Regions from separate parts of the Homo sapiens genome. Here region 2 is linked to region 1. Evidence: promoter capture Hi-C in 16 types of primary human blood cells and fetal thymus (Javierre and others, 2016). All regions are on one chromosome and are shown on one strand. Each heading gives the region's core, a stretch centred on a gene start or on the middle of the fragment in contact. The rest is flanking DNA. Distances are from core to core; before and after follow the strand shown.

Region 1 (7,822 bases), core at 3,175-5,674:
GGCAACAGAGCAAGACTCCGCCTCTAAATTAAAAAAAAAAAGACACTGGTGTCTCATGTGAATGCCCACTCAAAGACATCTACTGCAGCAGCAACTCTATTAATTGAGTGGACAAGAGGGCACATTCTGCAGACAACAGTCAGTCTTTCCCACAGCTGTGCCATTGCGTGCTCAATGAGCTTATTTATGCAGTGGCCATGGTGGCAGGTGTGGAGGCTCTGTATGGGCTTAGGAACATGGGCTTCCCCTTACCAAAGTGACCCGGCAGAAGAGACCAACACTAAAGCTTTGTTATGGCACCATTCCCTGGGGGAGGGCAGAGGAGCTGGGAACCAGTGTTAAAAAACCTATAAATGTGGCCAGGCACAGTGGCTCATGCCATTAATCTCAGCACTTTGGGAGGCTGAGACGAGCGGATTGCATAAACTCAGGAGCTCGAGACCAGCCTGGGTAATGTGGTGAAATCCCATCTCTACAAAACTTTCAAACATTAGCCGGGTGTGGTGGTGCCTACCTGTAGTTTCAGCTACTCGGGAGGCTGAGGTGGGAGGATGGCTTGAGCCCATGAGGTAGAGGCTGCAGTGAGCCAACATTACACCACTAAACTCCAGCCTGGGCAACAGAGGGAGACCTTGTCTCAAATAATAATTAAAAAAAAAGAAAAAACACAACCTATAACTACTTGGATATGTAAAAGAACAAAATAGAACTTATAGGCTTAAAAAAAAATAAACAAAATGAAAAACTCCTGAAACAGGTTTATCAATAGCCTAAGAGATAATTAGTGACTAGAAGAAAGATCTGAAGAACTATCCAGAACGTGGAACATAAAGAGGACAGATTAAGATGTGATAGAGAGGTTAATAGACATGGAGAAGGGCACAAGACTTTTCTCTTTTTCTTTCACAATCCACAGTAATAAATGTATTTTAGTTGTGACTCACTCCATAGATATGTGTATATTAATAAATACAACTGAAACAAAAGATTCATGAAATAATACAATACACTCCAATATATTATATTCTCGTTCTTTCTCAACACTGGTAACAATCTACTACATTGATTTTATAAGCCACTGTTGGAAAACAACCTACAGTTTGAAAAATATTAGTTGAATAACTACTAATCACACTACAAGATGTAAAGAGTGAGAGAACGAGGTTGAGATAACATTTATTTTTATTTCTTCTTTTTTTGAGACAGGATCTCACTCTGTTACCCCAGGCTGGAGTGCAATGGTATAATGGTTCACTGCAGCCTCCACCTCCTGGGCTCAAGTCCTCCCACCTCAGCCTCCTGAGTAACTGGGATTACAGGCATGCACCACCATGCGTGGCTAATTTTTTTTTTTTTTTTTTTGTATTTTTTGTGGAGATGGGGTTTTACCATGTTGCCCAAGCTGGTCTTGAACTCCTGGATTCAAGCAGTCTGCCCGCCTTGACCTCCTAAATTGCTGAGACTACAGGCATGAACCACTGTGTCCATCCAAGATAACATTTAACAGAGATATTGTCACGTATGATACAACACGGATGAACTTTGGGGACTTTATGCTGGGCAAAATAAGCCAGTCACAAAACGACAAGTATTGTATGATTCTGCTTACAAAAAGTACCTAGACTAGTCAAATTCACAGAGGCAGGATGTGGAATGATGGTTGCCAGGGGCTTAGGAGAGGGAGCATGGGGAATGATTGCTTAAGGGGTACAGAGTTCTAGTTTTGCAAGATGAAGGGAGCTCTAGAGATGGATGATGGTGAGGTCGCACCACAATAGGAATCTTGTTAATACCACTGGATACTTAAAAATGATAGAGAGTAAATTTTATGTGATGTGTATCTTACCACAATAAAAAAGTAAAATTAAATTGAAAAAAAAAAAGTATTGTCTGAGAGTTTTCAAGAATAATGAAAGACACCAATCATCAAATTCAGAAAGCCCAAAGAACTCAAGGCAGGATAAATAAAAAGATAACAGCATGAGCTGGGCATGGTGGCTCACGCCTGTAATCCCAACTTTTTGGGAGGTCGAGGTGGGTGGATTACCTGAGGTCAGGAGTTTGAGACCATCTGGCCAACATGGCAAAACTCTGTCTCTACTGAAAACACAAAAATTAGCTGGGCATGGTGGTGCGTGCCTGTAATCCCAGCGACTCAGGAGGCTGAGGCAGGAGAATCGCTTGAACATGGGAGGCGGAGGTTGCAGTGAGCTGAGATGGCGTCACTGCACTCCAGACTGGGGGACAGAGCGAGACTCCGTCTCAAAAAAAAAAAAAAAAAAAGATACAGCATGGTAAAACTGTAGAACATGAGAAGAGGGAGAAAAGACCAACAACCTATGAAGGAACGATGTTAAGATTGTCACTGGACTCCTGAGGAGCAATGAGGGGGAACAGGCAAACAGTGGATGGCAATCAAGTGTGCTGAGAGAGGACAGCTGTCATTCAAGCAAGCAAGCCAAAATATCTGTCAAGAACAAGGGCAAGGCCAGGCGCAGTGGCTCATGCCTGTAATCCTAGCACTTTGGCGGCTGAAGCAGGAGGATCACTTGAGCCCAGGAGTTTGAAACCAGCCTGGGCAACATAGTGAGATTTTACAGAAAATAAAAAAATTAGCTGGGCGTGGTGGTGCATGCTTTTAGTCCCAGCTACACCGGAGTCTGAGGTGGGAGGATTGTTTCAGCCTGGGAGATACAGGTTGCAGTGAGCCACGATCATGCCACTGCACTCCAGCATGGGCAACAGAGCAAGACCTCATCTCCAAATAAATAAATAAATAAAATAAAAACAACAAAAGGCAAAAATGAATCCATTTGCAGATGAGCAGAAACTGAGAGGATTTGCACCAACGAAGCTACAAAAAAATAAAATTTAAAGGATTTACCTCAGGCAAAAGGAGAGTGATCCTGTTGGTGAAAGCTGAGATGCAAGAAGAAAAGGTGGATAAAAATGGTAATTGTGTGGCTGAATCTAAACTAATGTTGACTGAATAAAACAATTTAGTAATGTCTCTTGGGGTTACAGTGGCAAAGGTTAAACTTAACATACACTACATTAAGGTGTATAATTTAGAGGATGGGTGATTAAAGTACTCCAAAGTCTTTATATTTTAAGGAAACAGGGTAAAGACATTTTTACAAATATTTAAAGATATTGGACTTTCACAAGGTAAGTATGCATGCCCAAAAGTTTGAAGTAACCACTAAAACTTAGAAATAGAGTATACAGGTGAAGAAAATCAGAATGAGAATAAAAATAAACCCTAAAGAAGAAAGGAAAGGGGAAAAAAACCAGGCAGGACAAATAGAAATAACAAAATACAATGGTAGAAATAATTCCAGATATATCAGTAAATATAATAAATGTAAATGGACTAAATGCTCCAGTTAAAATACAAAGACTATTCTTTTAAAAAACCTTTTTATCATGAAAAATTTCAAGTATACAGCAAAGTGGGAGAAACAGTACAAGAAAACCATATACCTGCGATGTAGAGTCAGCCATTGCTAGCAATTTGCCACATTTGTCTCACCTATATGGGTATGTATAGGAGACTATTAAGAACACCTATTTAACTTCCATAGTAAACATAATATAATGAAATACAATTTAAACGGTAATCATGATGTAGAGTATCCACTTTTGAGGTCAAGCAGATCTGGATTCTCCAGCAATTTTTAATTATTTAACTTACGTGTGTGGTTATTTATTCAAAAGATGTCTCTTCACTAGGCTATAGTAAAAGGATTGGAATCAGGTTCGCTTTTCTGATCATTGTATTTCTAAATATTTGTTGCATAAACAAATAGAATTTACTAGTAAAGAATTCAGCACAGTGCCAGTTGCATAGTAAACATTTAACGTAGAGTAGCTTGTATTTATTGTAGTTGCTGTTGTTATTGGAAGCATTCAGTAGAGTGATACAAAATAAATAAGCAATAATTGGTAGTTTATTATATTTATAATTATTATTTACAAGACGTCACAGTGCCTAGCCCATATCACTCACCCATAAACATTATACTTATACTAAGTACTTTCACTATTATTCAAAGTCTCTAACAGTGCCTGGCACTACATAAGCAAGAGAAAAGTGGAAGTTTATTCTAATTGTTATTATTGAATAAAGCACTTAACACGAAGCTGGCCCCCAGCGGGCCCTTAATAGTTTCCGCGGTGGCTGTCGTAGCTGGACTACAGACCCCGCCTCCTGAGCGGCCCGAAGCCCCGCCCCTTACTGCCCCGCAGTCCCGCCCCCGTGGCTTGTGCCGCGCCTGCGCACTGTCCCGGAAGGGGCTCTACGCGCGCAGCTTTAGTCCCCGCCCCTGGAGCCGGCGGCGCAGGGCGCAGCTTCCCGCCGCCAGAGCGGGCCAGCCTGCTGCGTGCGTGCGTGTGTACGACTCTGCGTGCGTGCGTGCGTGCGTGCGTGCCGTCAGCTCGCCGGGCACCGCGGCCTCGCCCTCGCCCTCCGCCCCTGCGCCTGCACCGCGTAGACCGACCCCCCCCCAGCGCGCCCACCCGGTAGAGGACCCCCGCCCGTGCCCCGACCGGTCCCCGCCTTTTTGTAAAACTTAAAGCGGGCGCAGCATTAACGCTTCCCGCCCCGGTGACCTCTCAGGGGTCTCCCCGCCAAAGGTGCTCCGCCGCTAAGGAACATGGCGAAGGTGGAGCAGGTCCTGAGCCTCGAGCCGCAGCACGAGCTCAAATTCCGAGGTAAGCCCCAGAGGCCGCCACCTTCCTGCCCGCGGCCTCCGCCCCAGTGCTGGAAGGACGGAGCCCGGCGCGGCGGGTGACGTCGGCCCTCGTCCCCACCCCGACGGCGCTGTCGCGGGGGGCGGCGAGGCCGGGCCGGGCCTTGGCGCTCGCCGCGCTCCCCAGAACTGCCCGGAGTGGCCGGGACCCGAGAGGGCTGGTGCGGGAGCCGGGGCCTGCGCCTCCTCCCCGACCCCCAGCCTCCTGGGACTTGCCTTCGAGGCACTTGTCACTTTGTAACTTACCAGTTTGTGATCCTCTCTAGTGTGAGCCTCCGCCGCTGCCTTTGCCTAGAAGTTTCTTCCCCTGCTCCGTGACAGTGTTGACCTCAGGGCTTAGTTGAGGTGTCAGCTGCTCAGAGAGGCCTGCTGTGACCACCCAGCCACCGTGCACACCTGCTGTCATTCCCTATTCCGTCACTGTTTCGTGGTCAGCACGGCACTTTTCATACCCAAAATCACTGTTTCAATACTAGAAGGGAAACTGCATGAGGACAGGCTCTTGTCAGTTCGCTGCTGTGTACCCAGCACACATTATACGCCTAGTAAATAAATACCTGTTGAACCAACAGATGAACATGTTGAACCAACAAATGAACCTCCTCAGGACTTCTGATGGGATTGGGCCCATTTTCCTTTCACTGCGTCCCTCATGCTGTCTCCTGGTTGCGGTGCAAGGAGGCTGCCACGGTGCTGGGATCCTTTTTCTCCGCAGAGCTGTCTGGAGCAACACCTGCGGCGATGGGAAGCCATGACCCTGGTTTCTCCCAGATACTATTACCTCTGTAATTTGTGCCTTTATGTTTTCTATGTTGTTACTTTTGTTTTTTTTTTTTTTTTCCTACCTTCACCAGGGCCACGAGGTAAAAGTTCTTGTCTGACATGCTCATTCTTTCTTTTTGCGTGTATCCAGTGATGTGGGAGGCTCTGGGGAGGTGATGGATGCACAAGACAGATAAGGCCTCTGCTCTCACAGAGCTTACCTTCCGACGAGGACAGACAAACCAACACACAAGATCATTGCAGATAGTGCTAAGTGCTGTGTAGGAAATGGAACAGTCTGACTCCATGGAAGCGTACTTTAGATTGGAAGGCCGGGTCTCCACTATATCGCTAGCACCGGACTCACAGTAGATGCTCAGTTGGTATTTATGAATGAATGAATGGCCAGAGGCTCTCCAGTTTATATGTCCTATTGGGAAGTAGTGTAGGGTAACTTACCCAAAGTTACCCAGTTGGCAAATGGTACATTTGAACCCAGACTTCAGAGTTCACGCTCTTAACCGTTTTGCTGTCTGATCGCTGGGAAATACTCCAGAACGGTGGCTGTCACTTTGCCTTCCAAGTTAACAATGTGAAATAACTCTGAATTTACAGAGAACCAAAGGCTTTCCAATTAAAATGAAAAAACCGAAAAACCCCACCAAACCTACCGTGGATTGTAATTCCAGGATAGTACTTGAGCTTTCATGATGTTCTCATGGCCTTCTGGGGATGCCAGATTGGGAAAGAAGTCCAGGTAGCTAAAGTGAAAATAGTGAGCCTTAGTTTCCACTTGAGTTGTCTGAAGTTCTTTCTCTATCTGGGAGGCCTGGCTTGGCTTCTCCTGATAATTGGTGGGTTCATTCGGTTAGTCCACAAACATTTACTGAGTACCTGATCTGTGTGTCAGATACCCAGAGAAGCCAAGTTATATCAGCTGTACTCTCCTATTTTCCCTCAACCTCCTCCCAGTACTTTAGGGAAGGGGGCAGATGAGAATAACAGCCAGGACAGGACAATGATGTAGGGTAGTCCAGAGTGCTCCAGGAGCATTGAGGAGGTCAACTCCTGAAAGAGGTGTCATTTGAGCTCAGTTATAAAGGTCGAGTAGAAGAAGGCTCAAAGAAGGAAAGGGTGGGGAACATTTCAGACAGAGGAAATTGCATGCACAGAGGCACAAACACTGAGATGACTGGGCTCCTTTGGGATGCCACTAGTAGTTTTTTTTTTTTTGAGATAGAGTTCTCACTCTGTCACCCAGGCTGGAGTGCAGAGGCGCCATCTCACTGCAGCCTCTGCCTCCCAGGTTCAAGTGATTCTCCTGCCTCAGCCTCTTGAGTAGCTGGGATTACATACAGGCATGTGCCACTACGCCTGGCTAAATTTTGTATTTTTAGTAGAGACGGTGTTTCACTATGTTGGCCAGGCTGGTCTCAAACTCCGGACCTCAAGTGATCCGCCCTCCTTGGCCTCTCAAAGTGCTGGGATTACAGGCGTGAGCCCGGCCACCACTAGTGGTTCTGAATGACAGCAACAAAGAACATTTGTTGTGGTTGCCTGGCAAGATGGGAGACAAGGCTGGTGAGTAGACAAGAGTCAGATCTCAGTCCCTTTATGCATAGATGCAGCCAGTGTCCAAGTTAAAATTGTGTTGCTTCTCCTTGAGCAGTCCTTCCTTGCATTAACTTTCTGAAAACCCCCAAATCCCAGTACAAACTCTGTTGTCTAATATGTTATGGAAAGAGGCACTCATTTGAGAAAATTTAAGATTTTGTTCAATTGTTTTACTGAAAGATGTGTGACCTTAGGCCACTTCACTCCTCAAAGCCTGGGGTGGTTATTCGGTCAATGGGGATGATGCTCGTGTCCACGTTGCCTCTTGTAGAACGTGTTTAGAAGGAATGACATGGCTGTTAGTGGCTTTGTAAGTGCATAGTACTATACAGAGATTAGACAACCACTTAACTACTTAAGTGGTTTCATCACTTCTGTACCTGAAAGGTGTGGCAGAGAATAGCGATCATTCTGGCCCTGGATTGGCCAAAGTAATTATGCCAAAGTCACTGGATATTTTTGCTAGGGAAGTGGTCCAAGAGAAGTGGTACCAAATTGTTGAAGGCCTCTGGCTCATAACTTTAGAAGAGACATCTGTGTGTGTTCTTAAATGACGTCATGAGGTGTGTTGTTTGTTTGTTTTAAACTGAATGCTAAGACAGTACAATTAATAGAGACTGAATACCCTGACTTAGAGATAATTCATTTCAGGATGAGAAATGGCACATTTAACTGGTTTCTTCCAGGTTACTCAG
Region 2 (7,822 bases), core at 2,639-5,138, 590 kb after region 1:
CCACCACACCTGGCTAATTTTTGTATTTTTAGAAGAGACGGGGTTTCACCATGTTGGCCAGGCTGGTCTCAAACTCCTGACCTCAAGTGATCTGCCTGTGTTGGCCTCCCAAAGTGCTGGGATTATAGGTATGAGCCACCGCACCCGGCCCAGAATTCTTCTTAAACAGGAAAATGACTTTAGAACTTAAATGACTTTAGGAGTATTTAAGCAATGCAAGCTAATCTGGACAATCTAGACAAGGCTTTGGAAAAAACAACAGATCCACAATATCTCAGGAGGCAAGACCTATAGACCCAACTACTTTTTTTTTTTTTTTTTTTTTTGAGACAGAGTTTCGCTCTGTCACCCAGGCTGGAGTGCAGTGGCATGATCTCGGCTCACTGCAAGCTCCACCTCCCAGGTTCACACTATTCTCCTGCCTCAGCCTCCTGAGTAGCTGGGACTACAGGCGCCTGCCACCATGCCCGGCTAATTTTTTTGTATTTTTAGTAGAGACGGGGTTTCACCGTGTTAGCCAGGATGGTCTCGATCTCCTGACCTCGTGATCCACCCGCCTCGGCCTCCCAAAGTGCTGGGATTACGGGCCTGAGCCACTGCGCCCGGCTGACCCAATTACTTTTAAATCATTGTGACTTATAGGCTGAATGTAATGGTTTCATTACGGGTTGTTAATCCATTTAACAATAAATGGATTAACCAACCTGTTGGTTGAAGGAGAAGTGAGCTGAATAATCCCCAATTCCGTAGGCACAATTAGTTATACATACATTAATTGGTCCGCTTTCAATTCTGGCACTATTTTTTAAAAAATCTAAGAGGAGAGGTAGGAGGAGTTTAACAGCCATCTATTCTTTCCAACATTTTGAGAAAGCAAGTGAAAATGAACCCTGAAACAAGCCAACAGCAGGGGCACTCATTAACTTAATACACTTTAATCTTGTGAATAGAAGCTGGAGCTGGATCCTTTGAATCGGAGCTGCAGACTTCCACCTCCAACCACCTGCAGGACATCTCCGCATGGGTGTTCTGTTGGCACCTCTAACTCAGCACAACCCAATGAACTCATTATCATCCCATGGAGAAACCTGCCCTCCTCCTGGGTTCCCTGTCTCAGCCATGGGCCATCCCCAGGCACACAAGCTGGGGGTCACAGCAGCATCTTCCCTGCCCCTGTTCCTGGCCCCCATCTCCCACCCCCAAGGCTGTTGTATCCTCTGGACTTGACCCCAACTTCACAGCAGTTAGCCACAGCTCCTTCTCAGCAACCCCCTCCATTAATGCTCACGGAAGCTTCTTAATTTACATTCTCACCTTCTCACTTCCTTCTGTAAGGCCCCCTCAGCTAGGAGAAATGCCTTTGAAAATTCAGATATGTCCTTTCACCCGCTCAGAGCAAGAAAAAAAAAATCCAAACGTTTCATCTTCCTCATAATGATGCATACTTGCTGAGCACCTACCATGTGCAAGCTCTCTGCTCAGTGCTTGGCATACCTCATTACATTCAATCCTTAGAGATGGCCCTCAGTTAATACAGACCTAACTCCCTCCCAAGATCTGGCCCTCCCTGCCTTGCCCACCTCATCTAGATTTCTCCTTGGCCTGCCAGGTGCCGCTCTCAGTGGCCTTTCTGTTCCAAGTACGCATGCCTGGCCTTTGCCCTGGCAGTTCTGCTCTCTGGAAATGCTCTTGCCTGGGTCTTAGCTAGCTTGCCCCTTTCATGACATGACTCAGTTCAAATGTAAGCTGCTCAGCAGCCATCTCTGATCTCCCCAAGAAGATTCTATTATCACAGAATACTAGCACTGATCACCTTCTGTCTTTATCTTATTTGTTCCCCCCACCCCCTCCCCCCATTCAGCTCCTTCAGTAGAATGTAGGCTCTACCCGGACAAGGATCAGGTCCAACTTGTTCACCGAGCTCCAGGGAGCAGCGCAGTGCTGGGCACTTAGGGAACACTCAATAAACATTTGTTGAATAAATGAAGACATATTCCCTGATAAGTTCTCCAAAAGTAGTCACTATTATCAATCTTCTGGAGCTCTTTTCTCTAATACTCTTTCCTTACTGACATGGGCATTACCTTTCTTTTTTTTCTTTATAGACAGGGTCTCACTTTGTCACACAGGCTGAAATGCAATGGCACGACCATAGCAAACTGTAACCTCAAACTCCTGGGCTGAAGCAATCCTCCTGCCTCAGCCTCCCGAGCAGCTAGGACTACAGGCGTGCATCACCATACCTGGCTGGGGGCGGGGGAAGGGGGGGGGCGGTGTCTCGCTATGTTGCCCAGGTTGGTCTCAAACTCTTGCCTCAAGCAATCCTCCCACCTTGGCCTCCCAAAGTGCTGGGATTACAGGTGTGAGCCGCGGCGCTCAGCCACGGGCGTTACCTTTCAAAGCATCCAGATTTTATGGCGTTAATCTCCCTGTTTAAAATTTTCTGTGATTTGGACACAAAGATGGGAACAACAGACATGGGGTATTCCAAAAGGCAGAAGGTGTGGAGGGGGGTAAAGGCTGAAAAAGTTGCCGAAAGGATTAGAAGCATCACGCAATATACCAATGTAACAAACCTGCACACGCACCGAATCTAAAATTAAAACAAAACAAAAACACAACAACCAAACAAAAACCTTTCCGTGATCATCAGGAGGCTGTCATATTCTCACCCCCTACTTCACGCTGGGAATCGAGCTGCGGGCTTTACAACAGCGTCAGCTGCTCCCTTTGGCAACGACCAGAGAGGTCCTTTCTCCAGAGATTTTTGTCAGCTCTGGGCACTTTTGCTTTGTGGGCCTATCTTCCACTTTATAAAAAATTAAAAATGCTACTTTCCACTGCATTCAGTACTTTTTCTTCTCTTTTCTTTTTTCTTTTCTTTTCTTTCTTTCTTCTTTCTTTCTTTTTCTTTTTCTTTTTTTTTTTTTTTTTGACACAGTTTCACTCTGTTGCCTAGGCTGGAGTGCGGTGGTGTGATCTTGGCTCACTGCAACCTCCACCTCCTGGGTTCAAGCGGTTCTCGTGACTCAGCCTCTTGAGTAGCTGAGACTACAGGCGCCCGCCACCATGCCCAGCTAATTTTTGTGTTATTAGTAGAGAAGGGGTTTTACCATGTTGACCAGGCTGGTCTCGAACTCCTGACCTCAGGTGATCCGCCCGCCTCGGCCTCCCAAAGTGTTGGGATTACAGGCGTGAGCCACCGTGCCCTGCCCTTTTTATGTATGTATTTATTTATTTGAGATAGGGTCTCGCTCTGTCGCTCAGGCTGGAGTGCAATGGTGCGATCTTGGCTCACTGCAACCTCCGCCTCCCGGGTTCAAGCGATTCTCCTGCCTCAGTCACCCGAGTACCTGGGATTACAGGCGCATGCCACCACGCCCGGCTAATTTTTGTATTTTGAGCAGAGACGGGGTTTCACCATGTTGGCCAGACTGGCCTCGAACTCCTGACCTCAAGTGATCCGTCAGCCTCGGTCTCCCAAAGTGCTGGGATTACAGGCGTGAGCCCCCACGCCCGGTCGCGTTTAGTACTTTTTACCAAAACTAAAAGAAATTAAAACACTTTCGTGGGTCCTGGACACTTCCGGAAGGATTTGTTTCCAGCTGCCAGATGAGGAAACTGGGGCTCGCAGAGCCGGCGCCGCAGGGGAGGGGCTGTGCACGAATCCAGTGGGAAACCTCTCTCCGGAGCTAAGCCCCTGGTCCACCCGGGCATCGCTCCGGGATCGACTGGGGGCGTTCCTTCCGCCGGTCCCCTTTGTTCCCAGTGCCGAGCCCGCGGCCCTGCCCTTCCTCCAGGCCCCGCCCCTTCTTCCAGGCCCCGCCTCCCGCCCGGGCCGAGGCGCGCGGCCGCGCGTGCGCCCGCCCGCCCGTCCCCGCCTCGCGCATGCGCCGCGCTCGCTCGCGGGAGGGCATGGCGGGGGCCGTGCCGGGCGCCATCATGGACGAGGACTACTACGGGAGCGCGGCCGAGTGGGGCGACGAGGCTGACGGCGGCCAGGTGAGGCGGGGCACTGGGCGCACCCTAGAGAGAATCGTTCGTCTCCGCCGCCGGCGGGCCGGCCCCACTCCCGGAGAGGCCGCGCGGCGCGAGGCTGCGGGCGTGCGGGGGGTGTGCGCGCGCACGGCCCGCGCGGTCACCGTGTGGTTCAAGCACAGCCCGCCCCGCCCCCGCCCGCCCGGGGTCCCGCGGCGCGGCCGCCGGGGTCCCCGCCTCCTCGCCTGCAGGACCTTGGGGTGGGGGTGAGGCGCCGGAGGCTCTGGCGCGGGGCGGCCCGAGGCCCCCAGTACCCCCTCGCTCCGGCCAGGCCCGGCGCCGGCCCTGCGACCCCCGCGGCGGGCGGGACACCAACGCTAAGGTGGAGGGTTGGGTCCGGAGCTCACAGACTTTTAAACAAAAATAAAGTGGAAAAACTTCACAGCAGCATCATGAGGAAAAAGTAGAACTTAGGGCATTCCTACATGTGCTTTACTGTTTTATAAACTGTACTCTTCAGCACCTTGGGCTGATTTCATCTGTTTTTGGGCAAACTGATGGAAAGGATTTTCGGGCCTTGACCTTCCAGGGTTTGGGGTGGAAGCCCAGGAGGGATCACTGTTCCACCCTGAGGACAGGGACTGCAGAGCCAGGGCAGGTAGCTCTAGTCTGGACAGTGTGTCCCCACCTTACTCTAAAGACCCAACTGAGGCGCATGATTGAAATGTAGCTTCTCACGTCCCTCCCCTGGAGACGGCCCAACAGTTGGTCTGGACGGGAGCCTGGGAACTTGCATTTTTTTTTTTTTTTTTTTTTTTTTTTTTTTTTGTGGTGGAGTTTCGCTCTTGTTGCCCAGGCTGGAGTGTAATGGCGCCATCGCGGCTCACTGCAACGTCTGCCTCTCGGATTCAAGCGATTCTCCTGCCTCAGCCTCCCGAATAGCTGGGATTACAGGCACCCACCACCATGCCCAGCTAATTTTTAAAATTTTGAGTAGAGAGGGGGTTTCACCTTGTTGGCCAGGCTGGTCTCAAACTCTTGACCTCAGGTGATCCACCCACCTCTGCCTCCCAAAGTACTGGGATTACAGGCGTGAGCCACTGCTCGTGGCCCAGGAACTTGCATTTTTAACAACAATCAAGATTGGGGATGTCTGGTGCATTTTGAAGTGGTATTATAAGGGAATAAAGGATGAAGTGGGGCTTACGTTGATAAACATGGGTGGTGGTGTGATGGCGGCTTCGGAGCCATGGTCTAAAATGCCAAGGCGGGCGATGTGTTTCTGGAACTGAAAGAAGCCCTGTGATGTTAGCTGCCTGGTGGAAGCAGTGGCAGGAGGTCAGTAGGGAGCAGGTTCTGAAGATCCTTGGAGAGCTGCTGAATGGTATGGCTTGTTCAGGAGTTTGGGGCAGGGAGTGACACGAGTAGATTTGCATGTTGGATCATTTCACAGTGTTGGAGGCTTAGGGTGGAGTGGATAGAGTCAGACTTAGCTAACTGAGAGCTTGGGCCATGTGTGTCATGCGTTATCCCCTTCCACACACAGGATTTTGAGTTGGGTGTTACCCTACTTATCTGGTAAGTGTAGAAAATGAGACGAAAAGACTTACTGACCTGCCCAAGGTCATGAAACTAATAAAGGAAGGAGAGGGGACCCAAACCCACATCCTTTGCCTCCGTTGCCACTTCGTCAAATTGCTGACTACCAAAGTGGTCCAGATGAGAAGGTGTGAATTAGCTTAGTGGTAGGTTGGTGTTTGGGGCATCTAGTATATCACCTTGAGCCTTTTTTTCTTTTTTTTTTTTTTTGAGACAGAGTCTCGCTTAGCTGCTCAGGCTGGAGTGCAGTGGCTTGATCTCAGCTCGCTGCAACTGCCATCTCCTGGGTTCAAGCAATTCTCCCGTCTCAGCCTCCTGAGTAGCTGGGATTACAGGCATCCGCCATCATGTCCGGCTAATTTTTGTATTTTAGTAGAGACAGTGTTTCACCACGTTGGCCAGGCTAGTCTTGAACTCCTGACCTCAGGTGATCCGCCTGCCCCGGCCTCCCAAAATGCTAGGATTACAGGCGTGAGCCACCGCACCCGGCCTTTTTTTTTTTTTTTTTTCTTTGAGACGGAGTCTCACTCTGTCACCCAGGCTGGAGTGCAGTGGTGCCATCTTGGCTCACTGCAACCTCCACCTCCTGGGTTCAAGTGATTCTCCAAGTAGCTGGAATTACAGGCCGGTGCCACCACACCCGGCTAATTTTTGTATTTTTAGTAGAGATGTGGTTTCACCATGTTGGCCAGGCTGGTCTCGAACTCCTGGCCTCAAGTAATCTGCCCGCCTCCGCCTCTCAAAGTGCTGAGATTACAGGTGTGAGCTACCGTGCCCGGCCTCACCTTGAGGCTTTGAGTCATAAAGTGTTAGAACTGGGGCATATAAGGGCCATCTAATCAGTACCTTCACTTTATAGACCAAGCACGTGAGTTATTTGCCCAAGTTTGTGCAGTCAGACCTAGACCCCACTGATGGGAGATTGGGGAGTCTCATGTTTGGGGAATTTTAATCATGATCCTAATTTGGCCCACTGACACCAGTGGGCTCTCATGGATGAGGGGGGTGGACCAGACGTTCATTTCATGTTTATTCTGTGACTCTGCTTGGAAGAGGTACAGAAAGTTAGGAAAGGTGTTAGGAGGGTGGCAAGAACTGGATTTTAAAAGATAGTTGGTGACCCAAATTCTGTTCGCCTGATGCCATGTTACATAGTGGGAGGTAGGAAGATGTGTAAGGAGGCCACCGTGATGTTCAGTCTGGATGGTGGAAACTAAGAGCTGCAGACATGCAAATAGATGAGTCCTGCTACAGATTGCAAATGGGGAGTGGTGAGAGGTCAGAACGGACAGGGGAAGTGGGAAGGGCACGCTCTTGCTAGAGCTGGGGCGTTTTTTCCTGAAGGAGATGGGAATCTTTAAGCAGGAGAGAGACGTCAGTTTTGTGGCTTACAAAGATCACTGTGGCCACGGTGTGAAAGATGATTGAAAGGAAGGAATAAGACTGAGACTTCAGGGGAATGTTGCTACTGCAAGCATACAAAAAATAAGGAAGAGCAGAGGCAAATGTGGAAAGAAGGACCACCTTGGATAGACAGATGGGAGATGGAACTGATGAGTCTTTGTGACAGGATGTGGGGGTGGGGTGAGGGAGAGAAGCTGAGGATGATTTTCAGGTTTGGGGGGTAACAAGTAGATATATGAAGGATACCTTTACGGAAATATGGGTTGTAGGAAGAAGATCTGTTTCTAGGGAAGAGATGTCAGTTTTGGACCTAAAGAGTTTGGATACTTGTGAGACATCTGACTGGAAATGAGAATGGAATGTTGGATACCTGAGTCTGGAGCTTAAGAGAGGAAAGACGGAGAGAGAGATCCAGGCTAATTCTAGATTGGTGAGCAGGTAGATAGCATGACCCAAGAGGTGGTGGAAGAGGCAGGTAGGTGAGTGCCCAGGGTGGAAGCCCAAGAGAACAGACAACGTGGGAATGAAGCTCGGGGTGAAGTCCGGCCTCTGTCATGCCCTTAGGGGCTCAGCGTTCCCCATGCAAATCTGGTCTGAGAGAAGACTCCACAGCTTTTACTGGGAAGTCATCGGGTTCTGTCTGCTCCCAAAGCACTGCTTTTAGGATCTTAGTCCAGATCAGGAGTGAGCAAACTTTTCTGAAAAAGGCTAGATAGCAAATATTTTAGGTTGTGCCTGTCTCTGTCTTAACTACTTACCTCTGCCCTTACAGGGGGAAAGCAATCATAGACAGTCCTTAAAAGAATGGGTGTGCTGTGTTCCGTAAAAGTTTATTTGCAAA

The links. The method cuts DNA at HindIII sites, captures the fragments that hold promoters and counts their contacts. A CHiCAGO score of 5 or more calls a contact.
Region 2: the fragment with the promoter of NELFCD here is called in contact with the fragment with the promoter of VAPB in region 1 in 6 of 17 cell types (monocytes, naive CD8 T cells, non-activated CD4 T cells and 3 more); the score reaches 7.8 in monocytes.

Annotation. Positions count from the first base shown.
Region 1 is chr20:58,384,805-58,392,626 of GRCh38, forward strand. VAPB (VAMP associated protein B and C) reads left to right here and starts at 4,425. Exons shown (of 6, transcript NM_004738.5): 1 at 4,425-4,713. The coding sequence starts at 4,656. RefSeq lists silencers at 4,134-4,573, 4,834-4,953. The HindIII fragment of the contact is 12,509 bases long and covers 285-7,822 here.
Region 2 is chr20:58,977,368-58,985,189 of GRCh38, forward strand. It overlaps NELFCD (negative elongation factor complex member C/D), which reads left to right and starts at 3,889. Exons shown (of 15, transcript NM_198976.4): 1 at 3,889-4,002. The coding sequence starts at 3,943. RefSeq lists a silencer at 3,745-4,224 and an enhancer at 4,147-4,647. The HindIII fragment of the contact is 8,660 bases long and covers 1,292-7,822 here.